Linked DNA regions of Homo sapiens: region 2 is linked to region 1. The links are contacts of gene promoters, found by promoter capture Hi-C in blood cells and fetal thymus (Javierre and others, 2016). All regions are on one chromosome and are shown on one strand. Each heading gives the region's core, a stretch centred on a gene start or on the middle of the fragment in contact. The rest is flanking DNA. Distances are from core to core; before and after follow the strand shown.

Evidence for each region. Contacts are between HindIII fragments. The CHiCAGO score rates a contact against its expected background, and 5 or more counts as called.
Region 2: the fragment with the promoter of PAN3 here is called in contact with the fragment with the promoter of SPATA13-AS1 in region 1 in 1 of 17 cell types (non-activated CD4 T cells); the score reaches 6.4 in non-activated CD4 T cells.

What each region holds. Positions count from the first base shown.
Region 1 is chr13:24,251,884-24,256,719 of GRCh38, forward strand. SPATA13-AS1 (SPATA13 antisense RNA 1) reads right to left here and starts at 2,556. Exons shown (of 3, transcript NR_046531.1): 1 at 2,453-2,556; 2 at 1,196-1,316; 3 at 866-1,073. The region is part of intron 4 of SPATA13 (spermatogenesis associated 13); the gene reads left to right. The HindIII fragment of the contact is 5,552 bases long and covers 1-4,836 here.
Region 2 is chr13:28,135,892-28,140,727 of GRCh38, forward strand. PAN3 (poly(A) specific ribonuclease subunit PAN3) reads left to right here and starts at 2,654. Exons shown (of 19, transcript NM_175854.8): 1 at 2,654-3,196. The coding sequence starts at 2,767. PAN3-AS1 (PAN3 antisense RNA 1) reads right to left here and starts at 3,283. Exons shown (of 2, transcript NR_029383.1): 1 at 2,656-3,283; 2 at 952-2,514. RefSeq lists silencers at 2,499-2,608, 2,799-2,878, 2,919-3,318 and an enhancer at 3,401-3,695. The HindIII fragment of the contact is 2,991 bases long and covers 1,353-4,343 here.

The DNA of each region.
Region 1 (4,836 bases), core at 1,306-3,805:
CTTTCAGAGCTGCTATGGGCCCATCTGACCGTTTCCAGCTAACCTGAGGCAGCAGGTTCTGCACCTTCGCGCCTCCCTTGGGCCAGGGCGCGTTTGTCTGGGAGTGAGGACGGCTCATCTCAGGAGAATGGTGCATCATTTGCTGTCTGGGGTAGATGCTCTGTGTGCCAGGCTGGTGGCTCTAAGTTTGAGAAGTTTGCCCCTCCTGTGGTGTCCGTGTACATACATTCCTGCATGTGGAGATCCCTAAAGAACCGAGACCCAGGCTAGAAATCCGAGATCAACACGTCAGCAGGGTCAGTTTCTTCTGAGGGCTGTGAGGGAGGGTCTGCTCCAGGCTGCTTTCCTTGCGTCTGGTGCCCTCAGTGTTCCTTGGCCTGTAGGAGCATTGCCTCATCTCTGCCTTCATGTTCACATGGCATTCTCCCCTGTGTCTGTCTGTGTTCAGATTTCCCCTTTTTATAAAGACACCAGGCTTACTGCATGTGGGCCCAACTTAGTGACCTCATCTTAATGTGATTATCTACCTAAGACTATTTCCAAATAAGGTCACACTCATGGGTACTGGGGGTTAGGACTTCACCATCTTTTGGGGGGACACAATTCAATCAAAAACGTATACCATGTTTGTAACAATATGCAACGTGTACCCATATGGCAGAAGATTTTGAAAGAACAGGCAGAAATAACAGTAGCATTGTTAGGGTGGTAGGAATGTAGAGCACTTCTCCTCCCACCCCGTACCTGTGTACACACAGCCTTTCCCTGCTTTCTGTAACACTGGTTTTTGTTGTTATGTTAAAAATGTTTTAATTTTAGCGTTCTTTTGTCGAAAAGCAACAAAACCTAACTCTGGCTGTCTTAAGCAAAAAGGGAATTTATTGGAAGGGGGCCAGGTGTGCCCAGAATTGATGGGATGGCTGGGGAACCAGGCTAGGGAAGGGATGGCATCCAGGCTCACTCCTGGGAGTGGAGGAGCCACCGGAAGGTGTGTGATGGGAGACTGGCCATGGCACTGTCCCAGGAGCTAGTGAGGTATCCAGTGAGCACTTTATCTGGGTATCCAGTGAGCGCTTTGAAAATACAAAACATTTAATTAAAGACCCTATCTTGAAGAAGTGTATACTTATTTGGGGAGGAGTTATAATAAGGAGTTAACTTATTAGGAGTTAGTGACTGTCTTTCTGTCACTCACCCAGGGGTTCAGGTCCCAGGATGGAAGATTCAGCTGTCCGAGCTTAGGTGATATGTCCACCACCTGGTGGTACTGGAACAGGAAGAAGGGTGGGGTGTCTGTCTCCAGGGACCCTTGCCTTCTATATGTGAAGACAGGCCAAGTAAGTATTTAACAGAGCAGACAGTACTATAAAGAAAAATAAAACAGGATAGAGAGCATTCATTTCCAAAGAGTGTTATTCTAATGACACTCTAATGAACAGGATGCACCTGTTCCATGAACCCTCTCTCTCTTCCCTAGAAGGAGACACCCAGATCCTCATCAGTGGCAGCAGACACCTCCAAGTCTAGGACCTCTTAGGATAACTAGTCCTCCAGTTCCATGCAGTGCCTCTTCAGCGTTGATTAACTAGAGGCAGATTTAAGCAACACATCCCTACCAGAATGGCAAGGCAGGGAAAGGAAGGAAATAGAGAATTTGGGATGCTGTGGAGAATAAAACGTCATGCAAAGTTTACATTTCAGCATTTGAACAGATTCCATAAGTCAATATGTAGGATGCACCAAGGCACCAGTGACGGCCCTGCAGAAGATGACTTTGGGTAATGTGAGGAGTAGGAGCAGGTGGGGGAGATAGCCTCCTCTCCAAGGAGGTGACGCTGGGGACAGGTGAGTAGGAGGCAGTGAGGCAGAGATCCGAGGGAGGAGAAGTCCTAGCCGAAGGAGCACCAGAAGCCCAAAGACAGGCAGGAAACATGATGTGTCTGAGGTTCAGCAAGGAGGCCACAGTGACAGGAGCTCAGGGAGCAAGAGGCAGACGAGGATGTTGCAGGCTGGGAGGTGGGCTGAGGCTGGAAAGGGCTCTGCAGGTCATGAGGAGGCTGAGCTTGTTCTAAGTGTGGTGTGAAGCCATTGGCAGCAGGAGCATATTATGTTCCGGTTTATGCTTAGAGAGGGAGGGCAGTTTGTGGGGGGAAAGGAAGAGGAATGGAGATTGATTTGAAGGCGATTGCATTAGTCCATTTGAGAAATATGGTAGCAGTGACCACAAAAGCCATCCCCATTTTCCGTGGGTGCTCATTTTCCCAGTGGTACGAAGAGGCAAAAATGGCCAGCCTTGGTTCTGATTCACTGTGGCCAGGACTGTGAACTCTGGAGGAAGTACTTCTCCCTTGGGCACTAAATTCAGTTTCAACAGAGCAGAGTTCCTAGGTGGGAAGAAAACATTTTGCAAGTATATTATTAAGTAATCCTAAGAAGCCGCTTCTATGTTTACCCTTGGTTTCCGGCCCTGCATCTTCTGCTGTGGGCCAGCCTCTCCAAATTAGTCACTGCTTCAGAGCTTGCGTCCCATCCAGGGCAGTATGGCAACTTCTGGGTGTGTCTCCCAGCTGCCTCTGTAACTTCATTTTTATTTGGTTGTTATTGGGTGTGATGGGGTCATGTGCTTCCTTCTCTGTGACGTTCTGGGCCTGGATGGCGTGTGAGATGCTGCGACAGGATAGGGGCCTTCTAGAGGATCCACAGAGTGCAGGAAAACAAATCCAAGCCCAGCATAAGTGGCCCTTCCAGTAGGGACAAATCACCACCCCCTCTATTATGAAAAGGCCCCACTGCAATCAGCTTTCCGCAAGGGGCTGTCTGGTTCCTGCGGGGAACCGTATCATCAGCTTTGTTGAGGGGAAGGCCCAGACTTCCTGTGGTTTAGCCCAGGCTTGGCATCCATTTTTGCCACCATGGCCTTTTTCTTGCTTGCTTCTTTTTTTTTTTCCTTTTTATGAACCCACTGAGCAAGTATCAAGATGACTAGGAAGGAAGACTGGCATCTAGCTGCACATTGGGACAGCATGTCCACATGATGATTGATTAGCCTCTCTTGCAATAAGGATTCATGTAGGATGGACATCATCTCATGCTCTGCGGGTATTCTGAGGTAGCCAGTTATACTCCTTCCCCAAACCCATCCTCAGCCCATCTTGTTCTTTCCACATTCCTCCAGGCCATTCAGCCAGGCCATTAGCTCCTAACCAGGAGTGCGCACGAGCTAAATCCTTGCCTTGCCAAAGCCATCTCTCCTACTCAGAAAGGCTTGGGAAGAGTATTGCTTACATTTGCCGCCGGGAGTTTCCCTGTCCTGAGGACACAGTCACCAGGCTGATGGTAGGAGTTCTCTTTGAGAAGCTAGGAAGAAGACTTGTAGTAGGATGCCTACCCTGAGGCTCCCTGGCTCTGCTCCATCAAGAGGCCTGAGTCTGGGAGTTGAGTGAGGGCCCTCCCTTGTCTTCTCTGTCATGGTGGCTCAGGTCGGGCTCTGCTTGCCAGCCCTGGAGAGTTCCTCCTACACAATGTTGTGGTACCTTTGTGGAATCACTCATCTGTTTTGTTCCTGGGGACCCCGAGATCAGTTAACAGCACAACCAGAGATTTCACAGGTCAAACCATTCAGATGACCAAGCTGGCCCTGCTGTGTGGTATAGTAACTATGCCCACCTTTTTCCCATGACAGATGTCCCACCCCCATGGAGGACCAGGTTTGCATTGCAGTGGAACCATCTCTCAGCAGCATCTCTGGCCTAGAGAGATTAGCAGTACATTAATTATAAAAGCTGCTGTCACATGGGAGATGCAGCCCAAGGGGTGGTGAGACTCACATGATAGACCATCTCTAGCATTTCCATCCCAGTCCTGGAACTCCTTCCTTTCTATGCACTGAGGGTTTTAGGTTTATATACCAACGAAGTGCTAGAATGGCATCCAGCTCAGTAAGCCCACAAATTGAGCTCAGCAAACCAGCTGTAAAAGCATCATTTTGAGACACGTTGGGGAGATTTTCAGATGAACTGAATATTTGGCAACATGAAGGAATTATTTTTAATTTTGTTAGTTGGGATAAGATAGTGCAGTTATTTTTAAGTCCTTGTTTGTTATACACAGATAGTGAAATACTTTCTGCATAAAATATGATATGTGAGATTTGTTTTAAAATACTCCAAAAAAGTTGGTGGGAAATAGTTGAAACAATATTGGCAAAAGACTGATAATCGTGGGTTCATGGTATTATCTGCTTTTGTGTGTATTTGAAATTTTCTGTAGTATCAACTTTTAAATAATAATGAAAGTATATTTCTCCTCCCTGGTCAAGTATTCTCAAAATCTTGATAACCAAAGGTTGGTAAATGGATATAAAAATAGAGCTAGACAGGAAGAATAAGTCCTACTGTGCCACAGTTAATGACAATGTATTGTATAGTTCAAAATAGCTAGAAGAGAGGATTCAAATGTTCTTAATACAAATAAATGATAAGTGCTTGGGGTGATGATATGCTAATTACCCTGATTTGCTCATTCCACATTGTATACATATATTGAAATATCACACTGTACCCCATAAATATTGTACAATTATTATGTGAGTTTAAAATAATAATATAAAAAACTCTCCAAATTAAGTAGTATCCACAACTAAATTTTTCTCAAAATATAGAAAATTGAACATTGCATTTAATTTTTTTTTTTTTAAAGAAATGAAGGCAGAGTCTTTCTAGGTGAATGGAGCCCTCCCTTCCGAGAACTTGGCAGCGCCGTGCTGTGCTCTTCCTTTCTCTCACCACTTTTCTCTGGCCCTGTTTGTAGCACCTGTCTTACCTCTTGCCAGCCACA
Region 2 (4,836 bases), core at 1,404-3,903, 3.9 Mb after region 1:
GCCCTGCCATGTTGACTTTTAAAAACCCTGTAATAACTTCCAATTGTCCTCAAGAAAAAGTTCAATTCTTTTTTTTTTTTTTGAGATGGAGCCTTGCTCTGTCGCCCAGGCTAGAGTGCAGTGGTGCGATCTCACTGCAACCTCTGCCTCCCGGGTTCAAGCAATTCTTCTGTCTCAGCCTCCCGAGTAGGTGAGATTACAGGTGCCTGCTACCACACCCAGCTAATTTTTGTATTTTTAGCAGAGACGGGGGTTTCACCATGTTGGCCAGGCTGGTCTTGAACTCCTGACCTCGTGATCTGCTCGCCTCAGCCTCCCAAAGTGCTGGGATTACAGGCGTGAGCCACTGCGCCTGGCCAAAAGTTCAATTCTTTAACATGGCCCTACAAGGACTTTTGTGGACTCTGCTCCATTTTCCACTATCACTGTATTCTAACAATAAAAGCTGTTTGCCTAGAATGCTCTTTGACTATACACTGACTACCACTAGCAGCAATACTACTTTTTTTTCGAGATGGAGTCTCGCTCTGTCGCCCAGGCTGGCGTGCAATGACGAGATCTCGGCTCACTGCAACCTCTGCTTCCCAGGTTCAAGTGATTCTTATGTCTCAGCCTCCCCAGTAGCTGGGATCACAGGCGCTCGCCACCACGCCCAGTAATTTTTTTGTATTTTTGTAGAGACGGTGTTTTACCAGGTTGGCCAGACTGGTCTCGAACTCCTGATCTCAGGTGATCCACCCGCCTTGGCCTCCCAAAGTGCTGGGATTACAGGCGTGAGCCACTGCGCCTGGCCAATACTATTAATAATAGTTACAACCTACCGAATTCTTATTAGGCATGGGACAGTTTATATACATTATTAGTTATACTTTATGAAGTAGGTACTATTCTTAATCCAGGTGTACAGACAAGGCACAGAGAAATGAAGCAATTAACTGAGAGGAACACAGCTATTAAAGTGTAGGCACTTTAATCTGTTTCAATCCAGATCTGTCTGAATTCAATGATGTTCCCAAACTTGGAACATGAAAATATCAACTTTCTCCAAGAAGTCTGACATGTTTAATATCCTCTAATAGCAAATGTGATAAGGTTAGCACTTAAGACACTGGTTTACAACGGACCTGTGTACTTGATGCCTCCCCAACCGGAAGATAAGCCATCTGAACTCACTTAAGGCGGCATGTTCACTTTTGCTTCCCCAGCTCCACAGTTAAGTGTACCACAGTTTCTGGTACACGTAATGCGTGTTAATAAAGATTTGTTGAATAATCAAATAAGCGAAACTGCTTTTAAACAGAAAGCCATAATACAATGTTATTACCTTCGAATTTGGCTAGAGAACATCACCAAGCTTACCAGTTTGTGATCTAGACTCCACTTTTCCCCATTTTTTTCAGTGTGCTACTTTTGCTTATATCCATTCTTCTGTGACTTTGTTTGCCACAATTCCTTAAATACTTCCACCCCTCCTTTTCATAACAGCGATCTGCCGTTTGTGAACCTCTTTTACAGAGAAAAACTAGAATGTTACTTTTCCTTTCATAGCAATTCTTTAAAATTTCTGAAAGCCTTTAAAAGGGTATTAGCGCAAACATCAGAGATCGCTGAGGTTAAAACTATCTTTTAAAAATGAATTTCACCGTCTCAAAAAAAATAAAAATGAATTTCAAATCAAGGCTAGGCTGATTGGAGAAAAGCAACCTAGTATATTTATAAAGGTCTTCCAGTGCTGTCTAAGCAGTGTTGTCCCAGGTGGCATCCTATTTTTCATAATTTACCGAAGGCCCTTGGTAATATAAATACAGAGAATAACAGGTGCTGCACTGAGCAGGGGGTCTGTCTAAATCAACCTTTTTGGCTCCATTTTTTGACAAAGGGCCAAGAGGTTAGCGTAATCGGTCCAGTAGTTCTCATTACCTTCGAGGGGAAGGGGAAAGAGGAGAGGGGCGAAGAAAGGAAACGGGGAGAGGAAGTGTGGCAAATAGAAGATATTCTTCAGGTAGAGCCAGGGCTCGGGCCGCGTCCCCAGGTGGCCCCTCCAAACGACCGTTTACCTTGTCAATTTTCTCTTTTCAATGAAAAAAAAAAAAAAGACATCTGGCTTTTTAAGTAAGAGAATATACAAATAAGGAAGGTATCAGGTCTCGTGAGAATTCGGCGCCAGATCCGCGTCCGGAACCCCACCGAGAGCCGCCGGTCCAACCGCCGATAGCTCGCGGATGCCCCCGGGGGCCCGACGCCGGCCAGGCTTCCCCTAGCGCTCCCGCTACCCATAAGCCCTCGCGTCTCAGCGCGCACGCGCAGCGGCGACGGCCGTCTCAGGAAGAGGAAAATGGAATAAACAACTCGGAGGAACCAGAGCGCGAGAGAGCGAGTGGAGGCAGAATTTAAAAATAAACCGGCCCCTCCGCCTTCCCCACCCGCTTGCCGCTGCCGCTCCCTCTTCCCCTGCCCGCGCCCTCGAAGTCCCCGTCTGGGCCCGCGCGCTCACCCCGTCGTCCCGCGCGGCCCCTTTAAGAAAAGAGAACGAGAGAGTGAGTGAGAGAATCCCAACTCTCCCCCTACCCTCCCTCCTTCTACCCCCTCCTCCCTCCCCTCTCCCCTCCCCCTTCTCCCCGGGCGGCTCCGGCTCCCGCAGCGGGACAGACCCACCCGCCCAGGCTTTTATCCGGCACCGGCAGCGTCTTCCTTTCCTCCCCCGTCTATGGTGGTGGCGGCGGCGGCTCCTCGGGCGGCGGCGGAAGACGAGGCTGCGGCGTTGCCATGAACAGTGGCGGCGGCCTCCCGCCCCCCTCGGCCGCCGCCTCCCCTTCCTCCTCCTCGCTGGCGGCGGCGGTGGCGGTGGTGGCCCCGCCGGGGGTCGGGGGTGTCCCCGGCGGGGCGGCGGTAGGAGTGAAGCTGAAGTACTGCCGCTACTACGCTAAGGATAAGACTTGCTTCTACGGGGAGGAGTGTCAGTTCCTGCATGAGGACCCTGCCGCCGGGGCTGCCCCGGGCCTCGGCCTCCATAGCAACAGCGTCCCCCTGGCTCTGGCTGGTGCACCCGTGGCCGGCTTTCCGCCGGGAGCCGTCGCGGGCGGGGGAGCTGGGCCGCCCCCCGGGCCCAAGAAGCCGGACCTGGGGGACCCGGGGACCGGAGCCGCAGCCGGCGGAGGAGGCAGTAGCGGGGGACTCGATGGACCGCGGCTGGCAAGTGAGTGTTTTTCGGGCGGGGCGGGCCGCGGCGGCGGAGGGCAGGCCTGGGCCGGATGAGGCCCTGCTGCCGACGGGAGCTGAGCACGGCCCGCGGGCTCCCCCCCTCACCTCCCAAGGCGGTCTGAGAGGCCTAGGCCGGGCCTGAGCCCTCCTTCCTTCTTCCTGCTTCCCCTCCCCACTGCCTTCGGCAAGTCGGAGAGCGCGGGGAGGTTGGGTTCCCGGGAACGTGGGTGGGAGGACTGGGGTGATGTGAAGGGGGGGCGGGGAGGAAGGGGGATGGGCTGTGGCGTGCGGAGTGTGAGAAAGGGGGTGTCGTTTCCGGGGGGTGTGGAAAGGGGCTGGGTTTGCAGGCACATGTGTTTTGCGTGTCCTTGTGGAGTGGCGTCTGCAGAGTGTTGAGGTTCCCTAGTGGGGAGGGGTGTGTTTGTGTGTGTGTGTGTGTGTGTGTGTGTGTGTGTGTGTAGGGGGCGGGAGGTGAGGGGCGGGCTTAAGGCTTCGTGGAGTAGGTTGAAAGAACGGAAAAAGTTTGTAGAAGGCTTGCGGGAGAAAGGTTTTGCAGGCAGGAAATGCTTTCTAAGGATTAGGAGGGAGCGGACTGTCGCGTTCAAAGTGTGCTCAGGTTTAATCGAGAGTTTAGAGTAGGGATTTCACAAAGACGCATTTCATCTGAGTTTCCCTGAAAGCTAGAATAAGTTTGCTGGTGTCAGCTGGGATCCTGTCTTCTATAGCTTTGTATCAAGCAAACTCAGCATTGTGTCTTGAATGCATGTCATGTGCAGCCTGCGTTTATGTGCGACTGAGCACTTGGGTGGGGACATCTTAAGGCTGTTTATATTTCTTTTTCATGTGTTGTTGTTGTTGTTGTTGTTGTTGTTTTGGAGAGAGTCTCGCCCTGTCGCTCAGGCTGGAGTGCAGTTGCGCGATCTCAGCTCACTGCAACCTCCGCCTCCCGAGTTCAAGCGATTCTGTTGCCTCTGCCTACGGAGTAGCTGGGACTACAGGCGCGCGCCACCACGGCCAGATAATTTTTTGTAGTTTTAGTTGAGATAGTAGTCTCGTTGTGTTGGCCAGGCTGGTCTCAAACTGCTGGCCTCAAGTGATCTGTCCTCCTCAGCCTCTCAGTGTGTTGTTATCTATTGACCTGAAGCTTGTTAGTTGTTAGTGGAGTTTACAATTGAATGTGAGCGTAATCTGTTAGAGAATGTTGCCTTTACGAATAGAGCCGGTGCCAGATGTCCCTGTTTTGTTTCTTAGTATATTGAGCGTTTCTAAACCAAATAGGAGTCCTACTTTCTTGGGAATTCTGGAGAACTAGATCTTAAAATAATCTGATAGGCAGTTCAATTTGTACATGAGAACATTTTGTCTTTTTCTTAAACACTGTTAATGAACCTGATAGGAAGTTTTAGCATTTAATTGGTCTATGAGGATTATTTAATATCTTCCCCGGGGTTTTGCTTTCTTGCTTTTTCTTTCGAGACGGGATCTTCCTATGTTGCCCAAGCTGGCCTGGAACTCCTGGGCTCAAGCGATCTTCCTGCCTGGGCCTCCCAAAGTGCTGGGATTACAGGAGTGAGGCACCATGCTGGGCCAAGTGTTGTTCTGTTCTGTTCTTTTCTCCTTTCTCTCTTCTTTCTT